5 separate regions of the Homo sapiens genome follow, and all the other regions are linked to region 2. Evidence: promoter capture Hi-C in 16 types of primary human blood cells and fetal thymus (Javierre and others, 2016). All regions are on one chromosome and are shown on one strand. The core of a region is centred on a gene start or on the middle of the fragment in contact, and the rest is flanking DNA. Distances in the headings are between cores, read along the strand shown. Region 1 overlaps MEF2C-AS1 (MEF2C antisense RNA 1). Region 2 holds the start of MEF2C (myocyte enhancer factor 2C). Region 3 overlaps MEF2C-AS1 (MEF2C antisense RNA 1). Region 4 overlaps LINC02161 (long intergenic non-protein coding RNA 2161). Region 5 overlaps MEF2C-AS1 (MEF2C antisense RNA 1).

Region 1 (2,991 bases), core at 42-2,541, 510 kb after region 2:
TTGAGGCTTTCTTGAGTCAGCAGTTGTGCAATATTATCCTGATAATTTTAGGCCCTGGTTTCTACAACTTTATATAAAGCTGTAGTTTGCAAATCATCACTTCACCAATAAACTGCCAATTTATGTAGCTTCACATTGCCTAGTAACTTCAACATAATTCCTGGAAGAAGGAGGACTGGGGCCTCTTTTACCTAACATGCTCTGTTTTCATTGAAGAGCTGAGCATGTAGAAGGTAAATGTGCTGAGGGACAGTCCTCCAAAACCCGGTTTTCTAACGTGAAGCTGTTATCAGCAACAGAACCAAGCAGAGGAAGCATGTTTACAAGATCACAGCAACATCCCAGTCCCCAGTCAGGCCTTTGTGGTTTCAAAAAGCTGCAAATTCTGTCAACAGCAAAGTCTGCATATCCTGTTCCTGTTTTACCATGGCCTTCTAGTTTATTTCCCAACTCCAGCATCCATCAATGTTTTATTCCAGTGACTATCAAAAGTGAAAGTCAAATGTTCTGTACTTTACTCTCTGACATGTGAATTTCAATCCAACTACTTCTAATTCCTTAGACACACTTCAGTCTTGACTGCTCCTTTGCTCTCACCCTTTCCCCTGATCTTGTGAATTCATTTTTCTATGCCATCAAACACTTTTCAATTAATATGCCTTTATAGGAACTTCGTTCTATGTCTTGATTTAATCATTTTCTTCACAACTCTTCACTAAACTTATAGGAAAAGAGGACTAGACAGTGCACCTTTTTTCTTCTTATTGACAATTCTATACTCTTCCCTCCATTTCTGAGTCTCTTATGTTCCTCATTTGCCTTATGGTTTCACTTGCCACCTATGCCCCAGAGACCCAATAGCCAGATATGTGTAATGTTATGAATCACCCTCTAGATTCCCATGAATGACATACTTCCTGATTTGGATCTGTAAATACATCTATGCCTATATATGCTCTATATTTCTAAAATAAATTAAGTTTATAATATAAACATGATTGTTTTTACAAAAATTGATGTGTGTAACCTTTATCTCCTTTGTTATTATTTTACCTCATCTCCAGGTATGAGCTTGTTGCTGACATTCACTTCCAACCTCTAATACCACAGTTTGCTCTGTACCTAACATTTACCTTCTCCTTGGAGTAAGAGTGAAATTTTAGCTAGTGGTCATTTGGGAGTGGGATAAGGCAAATGCGATGAATGGGACAGAGCCTAAGAATTAAATCTCAGAGATGGGGTGGAGATCAAAGACATAATGAGTGTCAGAATTAGTTCAAGCCTTAAGAAATTGTTGAAGGTTAATAATGGAGTTAACTTCAAGGAAGAACTGAAGCTCAGTGATGAGGTAAATATCTGAAATGTTGAACATATTACTCAATACAAGAACTATGAAAGTTTATTTATTTTTGCTTTTTATCTAACTATGAAATGCTTATACCCGAACATGGTTTCTTTAGTCCTTTCTACTTTAAGTACCTCACCATTACATTTCTGTAATGCCACTATTTCAATCTCCCTGGTCTTTTTTTTTTTTAAAAAAAGAAAAGTCTAATTTTTATACAAAGGAATTGCATATGCCTAATGCATGTTTGATGAGTTGGGACATATTTATGTACCTGTGATACTATCACTGCAATCAAGATAATAAACATATTCAACACTTCCAAGTTTCCTTATGCATCCCACTCCTTTTGTTGTAAGAACATTTAATATGAAATCCACCTTTGTAACAAATTTTTAAGTGTATCATATCCTGTTGTTAACTATAGGCACTACGTTGTACAGCAGACCTATAGAACATATTTGCCTTTCATAACTGAAATTTTATAACCATTGACCAACAATTCCCCATTTCTGTTCCTCCAAGTCCCTTAGAAACCACTATTCTGTTCTCCATGTGTTGGACTATTTTAGATATCTCATATAAGTAGAATAGTAGAGTATTTGTGTTTATGACACTGACTTATTTTAATTAGCTTAGTATCTTCCAGGTTTATCCATGTTGTTGCAAATGTTAAGATTTCCTTTTGTTTTTGTAAGGCCAAACAATATTCCATTGAATATATATTCCACATTTTACTTTATGCATTCATTTGTTTATAGACATGAGAGTTGTTTCCATATCTTGGTTTTATGAAAAATGCTGCACTAAACATGGAATTACAGTATCTCTTTGAGATCCTGATTTCATTTTTTTGGATATGTATGCAGAAGTGGGATTGTTGGATTATAAAGTCTCTCTATTTTTAGTTTTTTGAGGAATTTTCATGCTATTTTCCATAATGGTTTTACCACTTTACATTTTCACCAAGAATGCAACATTATATTGAGGTCATGAACATGTGTGTATATACAAATGCATGAATAAATGAATATCTTTTCTGCCCCCTGATTACCATTTCTTTGTGGACCAGAGATATTTTATAAATACCACAAAAAGTTGTCCTATTCCCAGTTAGTTGATGCCCTTGTATTGGAACTTCCAGTTCCAGTATTACAATTGTAGACTATGGGAGTCAGTCAGCACTATGGTGGAGGTTTTTTGGTTCTAGCCCCACCACTTACTTCTTGGTCATGTTTCTGAGCTAGACACTGGGGTCAAACTTCAACTGTAGACAGTGAGTGCTGACTTGGGAGTGATGTTGTCTCTACTTCAGAAGTTTGAGGGTTATGGATTTATCTGAAGCCTACACAGTGGCCAGGATAAGAAATGTGCAGTTTCTAGGCTGAAGTTTTATCACAAGCTTTTTTGTAATTTTCAAGGCTGTTGGGACTGGAATTGGTAAATTTCTTTTATTTTCCTTTTAATCAATCTATTATTTAAATACATGTGGCTATATTAACTATATTAATTGAAATTTTTCTCAAAAGTTTGGTGAAAAAAATTATAATTCTTAATATTTTTTGCTTCAGTAGGAATACATACATAGATTTTAAGAAAAAAGGATATAGAAAAATCAAGAAAACCAAAACTTGACGTATTTTATA
Region 2 (3,288 bases), core at 570-3,069:
AATTTCATGCATACACTGGAAGACAATAATATGGCTTTTTAACTGCATTATCTTTAGTTGAAACTGATGGAGAAACAAAAATACTGCTTATACCATATTGGTACATGCTGAATGTTTTTAAAGACTAGCCAAAACTGACATTTTTTAAAATTAAATAAGATGTTTTAGTTTCAAATTAGAGATTGTTGATCTATTTAAAGCTAAAATTGGTATGCAATACGAGGTTAAACGGGGTTCACAGGTGGTCACATTTCCATGTCCTACCAAGTCTCTAGGGATTGGAGTTATTATACTCCACATAAACATCTTTACTCTGCAACCACAATTCCATTGCAAGGTGCCAGTGAAAGTAGGCTAGTCGCTTTTTTTTTTTTTGGACTGGTATAATGAGGTGGCTGGAGTTTCCTTTATAGCACTTAGAAATTATATGCAGTCCCCAAGCATTTCATAAGACAGTTACTATTAGAGTTAGTTTCAGATTCACAATAGTAAAACGCACTTTGTGTCAAAGCAATTCTCCACTGAGGACCGGTTAAGGAACTGGCAGAGAGCCCAATTCTACTTAGTCTACTGTCAGCATTTACATATAAAGTATTTTATACAAAAGACACGCATTCCTAAAATGTGACAAAAAAAGGCTCTCCCCAAAGAATGATAACTACTGGACTTAGAATAGTCAGAAGTGATTCAGATATAAAATTTCCTTTAAAAAGCAATAGCCATGTTCAGGGAAGGAAGGTAACATTAGCATTAAATTTAAATACTTCCACAATATTTAATAATAAAATAAACAATGTGCCACATCTATATATACTTCCTTTGTGACAAACTTTATCATCGAGTTTGGTAACTTTCATTCCAAGTCCAAAGAGAAGGCAATTTAAGTGACTTAACCTTGCTTGCTTTTAAACAGCTATGTATTTGACTTGACCTGAACAGCAATCCATATGCTGAAATCGAACGTGAATTGTGAAATGTGTAGACTACTATGGCAGGGATATTACTTTTTGTCCACACCAATTAAGAAGCCCTCTGTCAAGCCGGCACTTTGGTGAGGGAAGGAAATGCACAAAGGTATACTCTGACAGACAGCCATGCTTTAGGTCAAACTAATCCCAAGAATTAGTGGCTCAGAAGCATAACCCAGGGCAAATCAGTGTCTTTGGGGGGACTCATGGGAGCATCTTTCCACAGTGAACTAACTGCTAAATCTTAAGGCGTCTACTTCAAGGTCACAGAACATGCTGTGAAATATTAAAATCCACCAGGCTCCACACGCTCCACCATATCAAACATGCTAATGACGTGAACTAACTTCATGAAACTTTAAATACACTGGTGTGACAGGAACGAGTCAGGAGTGATTTCAATAGCTGATGGCAAACGGATACGACTATCTAAAAAGTTACTTTTAGCAACAAACAAGGAAATCATGGAATCTAACGAAAAAGAATGCACAACGAGCCTCAACTTCAGCCTTCAAAAAAGGCACAGGGATAGATAGACACAGTGCCGTGGAATATATTGATGCAGATTTTAGAGACAATACCCGGGTTTTCTATTTCCTCGAGAAATATCAGGGGTACTTACATGAAGGAAGACCCGATCAGATTAGTCCTTGGGATATTTTCCTTTCTTAAGAGAGAGAGAGAGAGAAAAAAAAAATAACAACAATAATCTTTACTTCGTCCAGCGTTGAAGTGCTTCTCCACCTGATTCAAACATGCAGCCACGGCGACCCACACAGAACCTTCAAAGTCAATCCAATAGCAGCCCGAAGATGTCTGGGTGTACGCGTGTGCTCAAGTGTCTGTGACTGCGAGCAGAGCGAGCAGAGAGCTGGAGACGATGTGTGCGTGTGTGCGCGCGCGCGAGGGGAGCGCGCGCGAGGGGGGGGGCGCGGGGCCGCGCATTCGCGCGCGCCGAGGCCGCTCGGAAGAGGAGGAGGAGGAGGAAGAAGGAGGAGGAAGAGAAGGAGGAGGAGGAGGAGGAGGAGAAAGTGGCTCTCAGCGGCCGGTCGGATTAAAAGTAACCAGACTCGTCCAGAAAACTGCGTCCAGGAAGGAAGTGACAGAAGACGAATGGGAAAAGGAGAACAGCTCACAGCGTTTGAAACATCGCGTAAAAAAGACTGGGGGTGGTGGGGGCGGGGGGGATTGAAGGATACTGGGAGGGGAGGCGGGGGTGGTAGGGAAGACGGAGCACGAATGGTTGGGGTTCTAAGCAGCACGTCCGATGAAATGTCTTTTGCCTCCTTTTTTCCCCCTTTATTTAATTTTGTCCTTGCCTTTGCTTCGCGCTGCCTTTTTCTCTCCGTCTCTCTCTCCCCCACAATCCCAAACCGTTGACTCTTTCCTCGCGAGCTGGAGAAATCATCAGTTTCACTCTTGCAAAAGGGGGGCGGGACTAGACCTCGGAGCATTTTAATAAAACAAACATACAGCAGCTCCCTCCTCACCCCTCCAGTCTCAACTAGATTGATAAATTACTCCACTACACTACTTTAATTATGTATATGGTATGCAGAATAAATCACTGAACATCAGTACCTCAATCAAGCACTTTTAAATGATAATTGCATCTTGGTGAATCAATCTTTCCATTCCTGACATTTTGCTAATTTTAGTTTTACGGTGGGGTAATAGCACATGCCATACGCAAACCTAATGACAATTCTTTATTGCACGAAATGAAGACAACACGGCGAGCTGCGGCTCCCTGCTCCTCTCGCGGCGCCTCTGCGGAGGACGCTCGGAGAGAACCTAGTCTCCCGCTGCGGCGCGCTCGCTTGCTCTCCGGGGACGCTGCGAGCCAGCCAGCAGGAAAGTCCTTCTAAAGTCGGGATCTTTCCTCTGACCAATAGGAGCGCGACCCTAATAGTTGCTCTTGTGACTTTTCCCCCTTTTGGACACGCGTTAGCCACTTCTCTCTTCCACCGGTCGGTGCGCTCCTCCGTTACTCACGCGTAAAAACCACGGTCCAGGATGTCTGCAGCACTCGATTCCAGCGTGCTTTTCCTGCACGCCCAGAAGTCGCGGTTTTCACCCTGAGAGGTTGGAGCGCTAGAAAGCGAGCCGAAAGGTTTCTCTAATGTTAGTAATGTACGAAATAATAAAATAATTACCAGTATTTGAGATCTCGACTTCATCGCGGGGCCATGAACTTTCTAATCAGTTTGGAAATATTTACCGAGGAAGCAGCTTCCTCGGAGTTCCCCCCCTCCCCCCACTCTATCTTTTCCACACCTTACTGGACTTCATCCAGGTCATTAACATGTAAACCAAACCA
Region 3 (3,031 bases), core at 343-2,842, 550 kb after region 2:
ACTTTAGGAGTAGAACCTAGAAAAACATACTAGAATATGTACTAGAATAATACAAAGAGGTGTAGAAGGCAATAGAGCAAAAATATATTCTTCCTCTCTATTTATACAGGGCCAGTTTTGACAAAGAATAATTTTCATGACAAAATAGACATAAAAGATATTAAGCATTATTTCTAGCCTCCATTTTCAATTTTGATTTTGTGAGGAAATTCAGGACACATGCTCAATGAAAGTGCCATCTTTATTTCAAGGAAACATGTAAACAATGTGAGAAACCTCACAAACATTACACCATAAAAGAGTGAAACACAGCTCTGTCAGTTTCATTTCGAGATTCTCCTTGAGGGAAGGAGGGAGAGAGAGAGAATAAGAACGACAGAAAGAGAAAATGAGAGCTCGATGAGACAAGAACAAACCTCAATTTGTCTAAACATCACATGAAAAGAAAACATTAAAAAGCTTGCCTGCATTTTTACAATGAAAACATGCATCCCACATTCAGTTGTCTTGATTAGCTCCAGTAAAATCTTGGTCTGACATTGCCTGTTACCCAGCATACACTTAAGCTACCTTACCTTGTTATTTATGTATTTAATCCTAACTACCTTTAATTATGACTCAAATATTTAGAATAAAAAACAAGAGGGTTGATCTTCTAAAAAAAAAAAAGTACTTCTTCCAGAAGCAAATATATGAGCTTTATCTTTACTGCTATAACCATTATATATAAAATAGTAGATGGTTGTCTATATTTAAGTGAGCTTGATAGGAAATATCTTTAACTTTTGGGGGTCATGGCCATAATATATCTAATTATTTTGTAAAGAGTGGACAAAAGGATTAGATTATTAATGTAAGAAATATGTTTTCAATCCTAATCACAATTTCAACTGGATGTATATCATTTGGCCGCTTCCAAAGGTAACTATCTAATACAACTTCTTGGCAGATATGTGGATCTACAAAATCCAGAAATGCTGAGGACAAGATTTCCCATAATATTCAATGTGCTACAAGTTCATTTTCTTACTAGAACTTTTCTTAACTGCTTGGGTTGATAGCTTAGATGTCCCAAATTACAATTGATACTAGAAACACAATATCAGAGATTCTTTCTCCACTCTGCCTTACTGTTTCCATTTTAAAAATAGTTGTATTACATTTCTGCTAATAAAAGCCTTTCTAAGGATTCTATATCATTCTTTTGCAAGGCACATTCACATCCTTCAATGAAAGTTGCTATTATCAGAGCAATGTAGTCTTACTATTTACTTATTACAACAGCCCTCATGACTGCTTACCCAGGCAAACACTAGAAATATCTAACTCATTACCACCACATAAAATAGCATGGGGTATTTTCAGAATGAAAGAGATCAGAGCATGACAAATTCTAAAGCTGTTTGTGTCCCTGTTTCTAAAGAAAAGGATGGCTATTAAACAAGCACTGGTAACTTTAACTGTCAAACAAAGAGGATAGATTAGACTCTCATTGAAAATATTGCCCAGCCAAAATCTTGTTGGAAATACCTGTTAGTTTATTACCTTTTTTTTTTTTTTTTTCATTTAAGGTCTCAACGTCAATGGATGTTTTTGGGCCATCTGATGAATGAAAACTGACCCAGATGGAGTCAGAAATCAAAAATGCCTATTGACTTATTCAGCTGGAAGTTGATCCTAGTTTCTATTTAAATCTACTGCTTAAGTGTCAGCATACAGGCTACATTCCTTATCATGGTTCAGGGGGCAGATATTTGGGTCAAAATATTTCTACTCACTCTGTAGCTAATGTGGGCTTTACAATGTTTACAAACAGCTGTTACAATAACCCAAAGATCCGAAGAAAAATGTGACACATTCAAGAATCTGACAGTTAAAAGCCAAGCATTTGTTCAGATAGCACCTTGTGGTTTGAGGTAATAAGACCCACGATCTTAATAGTATTTGTCACATTCAAGCAGCTGTATCCATGAGAGTAGAAGTGACTACCCTCTTACACACCCAGTTACTACTTTGAACCCAGGTCTATATTTTGGCTACCTTGGCAACAGCACAGCAATAACAACTGGTGCCATAATGGCGATGTCAATCCAAGGACATCTTTGGAGAAAGCAGAGGCCCTGACTTTCAACATAGAGAGGCAGAAAGAGCACATAAAATAAACTGAGAAGTTGGTGTCCATAGCACTGCTCATACACTGAGACTCTAGGATATTTATTATAATAGCGATGTTTTTACAAGCCCAGTAATTTTCTAATGGCTGGCTGTTCTTTTGTCAAAAAAACAAAAAGCCAGAAAACATTTCAGGGAAATGGGTCTCTGCAAGCAGGAGTCTACTTTTTTTCTATTTTTGTCTGAAATGAAACTATGAAGGATAAGCTATGCATTACCTTTGACCATATTAATCAATGTAGGTTTTCACACAATCATTAAGATGAAAGAGTTTGTAAACAACAATGAAAAGAGACAAAATTCATTGCTCAGCCTTCCCATGGAGGGTCTCTTATAATTGGTCACTATTACCTCTCCTTCTGGTCACATGGTCAAAATACATTTCCCTATCCTCAGGACATGAAACACACTTCGTGTCCTCATTACTTGCCTTGGTTAATGAAATGTGAGGAGAAGTGATAGGTGTCTCTTCAAGATGGAATATTTAAAAGGAAATTCGGTTTGCTATTGTTCCCTACCACTGTCAAGGCAACCAGCAGCATTCCAGATGATAGAAGCTTCATCAACCTGGAGTGAGAAGATGTAGAGCTGAGTTCCCAGCTGTCCTGGGATGAACACGTAATATGATCAATAAATATACATTTGTTGCACTTATCTACTGCAGTTTTGGAGGTGTTATCTCAGTATAACCTAGTCTATCCTGATTACACTGAGTGCATAATTTTTAGAAATCCAAAGAATGCCTTTCCTTAACTTTTCACAGAATCAGATGCTACAAAGAAGATAATGCTTCAAATCTCTTCACCAGAAAGAGATAGACTTTTTTTCTGGACTGGCTAGAGAGAAAGTATAGAATCAT
Region 4 (3,451 bases), core at 178-2,677, 840 kb after region 2:
AAGGTAAATGCATAATTTAGATTAGATGAATTGAATTCAGATATTACTTGCATCCTCCATGAGATCAGATTATGCATATAACAGGTCACAGAAGCTATAATGAACAAGAGCTTATTACCTATTTGATTAATTCTATAGCCATCATGAAAATGTCTTAGGATATCTTTGGATTAAAGAGAAAATCTGTTAACAAATTGGGCACAGGAAAATAAAACAAAAAAATTACTGGAATTATCATGAGTATATGGATCAAGTGAGGTGAAATTCAGAGAGAAGATAAATTTATTTTCAACAGCTGACTCGAGGAAGAGCGAGTTGGTTGATGGGGAGAAATAATTCCATAGAGCCACCTACTGTGGGAGAATATTAAATATCTATGATAATTGTGATACCAATAACTTTCAAAAGAAAGGAATGATATTTATATTACTATAGTCGCTTCTGTGAAACATTTGGATAATTTTAGTTCAAGGTTTTAATCTTTCTAATTTTCATAGCTTTCATAGTTGCAGTGCCCTGTCATGTTCGAGAAAGAGTGCTTATTCATAAGAAGCTGAATCTTCATTCTTTAGTCATTAGTAAAAATGGGTCATAGATCATGTCATGTTGTCTATAACCTAGTTATAATTCTGGCAGGAGGGAATTTTCAAAATCATGATTTCATATAGAAACCTTTAAAAACTCATTAGCTTCTGATAATTATACTAATATCTAAAGCATTAAAATCATGGAGCTAATTTCGGCAAAAGATCAGCAGCGAACGTGTTCTGGGGGAAGTTTTCTCTTTCAACTTCCTGGGAACAAAATAGAAGGCAGTTCAGGGCTCTAACATAACACCCTATTTCAGATGCAGAAGAGACAGAATTTCACGGAAGCATCGCATCGTGAGTTAGCGGATTCTAAAATGAAAAGCAAGAATATTAGAGCAACATCTCTAAATGTGACTCTGGGCACTGGAGAAGCCTCTCCACTTGTGATTGATTTGCATTTCTGCCTATGTCTGAATTCATATTCCATAAGCACAGATGGAGGTGTGATAGATTTTTTTTTGAGCACATCTATTTATTCAGATACCGGATTCAGTCTCTGAGTAGGGAGATGGTAAAGGCTGCTGTGAGCAGATGGCACATAGGCACTATGACTTTAGAAACAACATTCTTTAAAGAGAAGTGGCACCGTAATAATAATAATACTTAGCACATATATTGCACCTTTGGTCTGCCAACATTAACTAATTAATCTTCAGTAGACCCCTGTGAGATAAGTAAGTGCTTATAATCATCTCTATTATGCAGTCAAGTCAACTAAGAATGTGTCTGCACATACTGTGGAAGAATTGGCCCAAGTTAAAGACCGGGTGGATCCAATTTGCATGGCTCTTTAAGATTTCTGCTCTAGTAGCAGAGACTAGTATTTCTAGACACCCTGCTGTTTGAGGCACCAAGTAGTTTTGAAGCAGGCTATCAACCCAAGACATATTTCATTCAGAAGGTTTGTGCTGCAAGGGTCTAAAACAGGCCTAAGAAAAAGTTGAGTCATTTTTTTAAAGCCCAAAGGCCATGCCTGGCCAGAAGCAGGTGTGAAATTACAGAACCTCTGCCTGCTTTTCCTATTTGAAGAAGGCAATTTGCACATATCTTTAAAGGATATTTTTTAAAGTGTTGAACAACATTAAGAGTTCAGGGAAGTCTGGAGTTTTCCCTTAGTATTTGCTGCACCTGGGGCTTTTCCACTGAAGTTGGTTAAGTATGACCTATGGCTTTGACCAGAAATATTAATAACCCACATCAGAATGAAGGGCTGGTGAACTGCTTTATTATGGCATCTAATGGCTTAGATTCTGATGTTTTGATCCTTCTAACATAAAGGAGCGAAAATGTCAGTCTTGAGGATCTGAAATTTGGCATCTGCCATGATACCCAGAGATCCCTGCCTCAACTGAGAAATATGTAGCACAAAAACCTTTGTAAAATTGGGAGTATTAATACCCCACACACAAACTAATTATGAAGACTGAAGTAGAAAATATATGGTAGTGTCTTTCCATACGTGACACATGATAGATAAGTAGTAATACTTCAATCCCAAGCTACCTTTTGTTAGCAGCATAATCCTGGACAACTCACAACCTTTGAGACTCAGTTTACTCATCTATTAAATTGGGGTTAATTCTACCAACCACAAATAACTTAAAGAATCTACAGCAATGTCTATTCCTCTCAAAAGGGTAAGGGGTTTTTTATGACTATTTTAAAATCTTTTTGTTTTCTATTATAATATCTATTAGAACATGCTTTGCATCTGAAGTCACTAAACTTTACTTTTTAACCTTGGGAGGTGATCATCTTTGATCTTCTACTTTCCTCTTTTCCATTTTAAATCTGCTCTTGTTTTTGCAAGGGATCTCAAACTCAAATGTCTTGAAGGACAAGGGAGATAGCACTAAAATATAGAACTGCTAAATATATGACAATGGTCAGTGATGATGCTTAGAGGCAAACTATTGACAGCATGCCCTGATTGTAGCCATACAAATTGAAAGTCATTTTTAATACAAATCACATTTGGGGTACAAGTATTTTTCTTGGGTTATGAAAGAGATTTTCCTCCTGACATACCTAGCTCTTCTGTTCCCTTTGATCAGAGTGCTCTCTTCGTTCACCTCGAATGTCAAAGTCCTTCCATTTAAAAAAGTCCACGTTACATCCAAGCTCTCCCATGAAGTCATTCCTGACCTCCACAGTTCATGATGATCTCTTCTTACCCTGAATTCACAAGTTTTATCTTCTGAACACCTAATTTGGCATTGATGAATGCCATGTGGTACCTATATTTTTAACCCACCATAAATAAGTACAATAACTAATAAATATTAGTTATTATAATTGTCATAATATCTTCATCCTCAAGTAGATTTTTTTCCTACTCTGCCTGGCCCAGAGAAATGATCATAGAGATATCTTACATATTTATAACAATGTACGGTTTGCCAAATGGTGGGGCAACACTTAGTCTTCATCAAATACTTACATGGTAGTATTAGCCGTCTATAATGGAGGAAGAAATTAAGGTTCAGAAAAGCATAGCAAATTCAACAAGGACACACAGCTAGAATGTAAACCATCAGGAAACAGAGAGCTTCTAATTCCAAGACCAGTCTAGAAGAAGAATTCATCAATGATGGCAAATGTGCTGATCAGCAGCCTTCTCTAATGTAATCCCTAAACTAGGCTTTTTCCTTCTCTGAATCATACAAGCTTTAATATATATGAATCAGTCAGTAAATTATTAATAAGTCATGTCTTCTAGTTAGATTATAATTACATTGAAGGAAGATCTTATACCAGGTATTTTAAAATTTGCCTCTAACCCCTTGCTATAACAATTGGCATCCTTTGAATACCTCATAGAAATTTTAAAAATACGTAACACTTGGGATTCTAATCTCAGT
Region 5 (3,093 bases), core at 364-2,863, 570 kb after region 2:
TGGCTGGATGTGGTGTCTCACACCTGTAATCCCAGCACTTTGGGAGGCTGAGGCGGGTGGATCACTTGAGGCCAGAAGTTTGAGACCAGCCTGGCAAACATGGCAAAACCCCGTCTCTACTAAAAATATATTTTAAAAAATAGCTGAGTGTGGTGGCGCACACCTATAATCCCAGCTGCTGGGGAGTCTGAGGCAAGAAAATCACTTGAACCTGGGAGGCAGAGGTTGTAGTGAGCAGATATCATGCCACTGCACTCCAGCCTAGGTGACAGAGCAAGACTCTCTCTCAAAAACAAAGAAAAAAAAGAGAAAAGAAAACCAAAGGCAGCTTCCTCTAATCATTAACAGTATTATAATTATTTTAAGTACTCTCTTAAGAAATCACACATAATAGTAAAAGTATAGATTTTTTCATAGTAGTAAGTTAATGATTTTTATTCCAAAGATAGATATTTATCAAAATTTAACCTACATTACTTGAACAAGTATGTATTGATCTAGACAATAGTGGTAGAGAAGGAGGAAGGTATAGATAAGATATGGTTCTAGACACAAAGTTATTCCTAATCTATTGGAAGAGATAAGGAAGGGGTAACAGTAACTATAGTAGAAGGTGGTAAGACATTTAAATTTAAAAATGTGTGTGTGTGTGTGTGTGTGTCTGAACTGAAAGTTTTGGCAGGAAGAAACAGGGAAGACTTCAGGTGAGGTTGACATCTGTGTTGCTCTTTAAAGGAATGACTATTTCAACATATGGAAAAAGTGGGGAAACCTCTTGACCATGTGAAGGCAGTGGCATCACCACTGTGTTATTAACCAAGTTCATTCAAGAATGATAAGCAGACCAGACACAGTGGCTCATGTCTGTAATCCAAGTGCTTTGGGAGGCTGAAGCACAAGGTTGGCTTGAGGCCAGGAGTTTGAGACCAACCTGGGCAACACAGTGAGACCACATCTCTAAAAAAGGAAAATGATAAGTAGGATTTGGCGGGAAAAGTGCAGGGTATTTGGAGAGAACTTGCAGGTTGTGTATCACAAAAGTTAGGCACTTCCTGATTTGTAGCGGGCCTTGAAAGCCTTAGGTTTTGTTTTATAGGCAGTAAGAACTCATTAAGGTGAATGAAGATAGAAGAAAATGAGTGGCTTGCAATAATGAACTGGGAGACAGAAATGAGCAGTCAAGAGAGAATCATGTAGGGAGAGAATACAATAATGTGGATAAACCAAAATGAAAGTCTGAATAAAAGAATGCCAATAGAAAGGAAATGGAGCCATTAGGTGCATGAGAAATTCCAGAAAAAAATTCAGAGATTATGAAGACTATTAAATATATGTCCATGGGGGGAATGTACGGACACAAAAGGGATTTGAGACTGGACTGCTAGAAGAGTGATAAAACTACTAACATAAAACACACATGGGGATGGTAAGAAAAGAAGACAAATATGGTGAAAACAACTTTATGCACATTATTTAGAGCCATCCAAATGACACTGGAAAAGGAACTCAGCTACAGCAGTGTGACTGTGATATGGTAGAGTAGGAGAAGCCTGAGCTTTTTTTATACCGGAAGAAGTAGTATAAAACGAAAGTGTTAAATGAAATGAAAGGCCAGGTAATAAATCAACTAGAGAATGATATCAAAGATAATTATATTTATCATTGAAATATTCTTTCTGTCACCAATTAAAAACCTCTTCATGCCTTCCTCTCCCAGCCCTGACCTTCTCCCAGGCTTGAGATCTTGATTATGATCTGAACTGTGAAGTTAGAATGAAGAATTAGTTGGTTGTTATCTTCATAGAGGTGAAAGTAAGACTTTCGGAAGTGGATGGTATCAGGAAATGCAGTGAGAATAGGGAAGATAAAGGAAAGAGCCTTAGAGGAATGCCTAGATTTAGGTTTGTAATAGAAGCAAGAGAAATAGAGAAAGCAAAGGGAGAGACATTGGAAGAGAATCTAGAGAGAAAGTGTCAGGAAAATTGACTTTTCTGGAAGGAGGAAAAGAGAAGTGGTCAAGAAATCCCATATGCTTTGGTGAGATTCATGCAGATAGTAATGAGAGGAAGCAACCAGAGAAGAAATATTATAAGATGTTTGACTCAAAGGCAAGATTTTCAGATGTTGCAGGGAGATGTAGGGACTGTCCTGATTAAGGCTGAGTAGGACAAGGTAAATACTAGGTAGGGAATGAGGCAATGGGTGGATAGGACAAAAGTGGCGAAAAAGAGAGAGAGAAAAAAAGAAAGAATGAAAGAAAGAAAGAAAGCAAACAGTGGGGAGACAGGGTCAAAATTTGTGTGGAATTTGTAATCATGCATAAAAGTTGATTGAAGAGGTTATGTGGAAGAACTTTTTAGGAATAAAGAAGAATTTGGTTAAAATAATGTGTAGAGGGCCTGGTGCAGTGGCTCACGCCTGTAATTCCAGCACTTTGGGAGACTGATGCCGGTGGATCACCTGAGGTCAGGAGTTCAAGACCAGTCTCACCAAAATGGTAAAACCCCCGTCTCTACTAAAAATACAAAAATTAGCTATACATAATTGTGGGTGCCTGTAATCCCAGCTACTTGGGAGGCTGAGGAAGGAGAATCACTTGAACCCAGGAGGCGGAGGTTGCAGTGAGCTGAGATCATGCCATTGCACTCCAGCCTGGGTGACAAGAGTGAAACTGCATCTCAAAATAGTAATAATAATAATAATAATATAGAGAGCTAATCATCCCCAAAGTTGCAGTTGTAATGTCAAAATGTCTGACAACTTGAAATCTTGGTCATCAAGGTTTATTGGTTCTACTGAAAACCTTGCCATTAAGCTGATGATATTAGGTCACAGATTTTGAGACAACAGTCTGATATAGACTGAACTGTATCCTGCCAAAATGTATATGTTGAAGTTCTTACCCCCAATATGATTATATTTCCAGTTGGGGCCATTGTAAGGTAACTAGGTGCAGATGAGGTCATAAGGGTTGAGTCCTCATAGTGGATTAGTGCCCTTATAAGAAAAGACATCAGACAACTAACTCTCCTTCTGCCATGAGGGGATGCAGCAAAAAACTGGCCAACTGCAAGCCAAGAAGTGAGTGTTCAC

What was found. Contacts are between HindIII fragments. The CHiCAGO score rates a contact against its expected background, and 5 or more counts as called.
Region 1: a contact is called between a fragment that was not itself captured here and the fragment with the promoter of MEF2C in region 2, in 4 of 17 cell types (megakaryocytes, M0 macrophages, M2 macrophages and 1 more). The highest score is 7.3, in megakaryocytes.
Region 3: a fragment that was not itself captured here is called in contact with the fragment with the promoter of MEF2C in region 2 in 1 of 17 cell types (total B cells); the score reaches 6.0 in total B cells.
Region 4: a fragment that was not itself captured here is called in contact with the fragment with the promoter of MEF2C in region 2 in 1 of 17 cell types (neutrophils); the score reaches 5.7 in neutrophils.
Region 5: a fragment that was not itself captured here is called in contact with the fragment with the promoter of MEF2C in region 2 in 1 of 17 cell types (megakaryocytes); the score reaches 6.6 in megakaryocytes.

Annotation. Positions count from the first base shown.
Region 1 is chr5:89,396,435-89,399,425 of GRCh38, forward strand. All of the region lies in intron 8 of MEF2C-AS1 (MEF2C antisense RNA 1), which reads left to right. Among named protein-coding and RNA genes, the nearest start is that of LINC02161, 180 kb to the right of the region's middle. The HindIII fragment of the contact is 2,907 bases long and covers 1-2,745 here.
Region 2 is chr5:88,881,365-88,884,652 of GRCh38, forward strand. It overlaps MEF2C (myocyte enhancer factor 2C), which reads right to left and starts at 1,820. Exons shown (of 11, transcript NM_002397.5): 1 at 1,591-1,820. It overlaps MEF2C-AS1 (MEF2C antisense RNA 1), which reads left to right and starts at 1,966. Exons shown (of 10, transcript NR_136219.1): 1 at 1,966-2,121. RefSeq lists an enhancer at 2,878-2,927. The HindIII fragment of the contact is 10,727 bases long and covers 1-3,288 here.
Region 3 is chr5:89,436,318-89,439,348 of GRCh38, forward strand. The region is part of intron 8 of MEF2C-AS1 (MEF2C antisense RNA 1); the gene reads left to right. Among named protein-coding and RNA genes, the nearest start is that of LINC02161, 140 kb to the right of the region's middle. The HindIII fragment of the contact is 2,270 bases long and covers 458-2,727 here.
Region 4 is chr5:89,723,566-89,727,016 of GRCh38, forward strand. All of the region lies in intron 1 of LINC02161 (long intergenic non-protein coding RNA 2161), which reads left to right. Among named protein-coding and RNA genes, the nearest start is that of LINC02161, 140 kb to the left of the region's middle. The HindIII fragment of the contact is 3,655 bases long and covers 1-3,255 here.
Region 5 is chr5:89,453,050-89,456,142 of GRCh38, forward strand. The region is part of intron 8 of MEF2C-AS1 (MEF2C antisense RNA 1); the gene reads left to right. Among named protein-coding and RNA genes, the nearest start is that of LINC02161, 130 kb to the right of the region's middle. The HindIII fragment of the contact is 3,925 bases long and covers 1-3,093 here.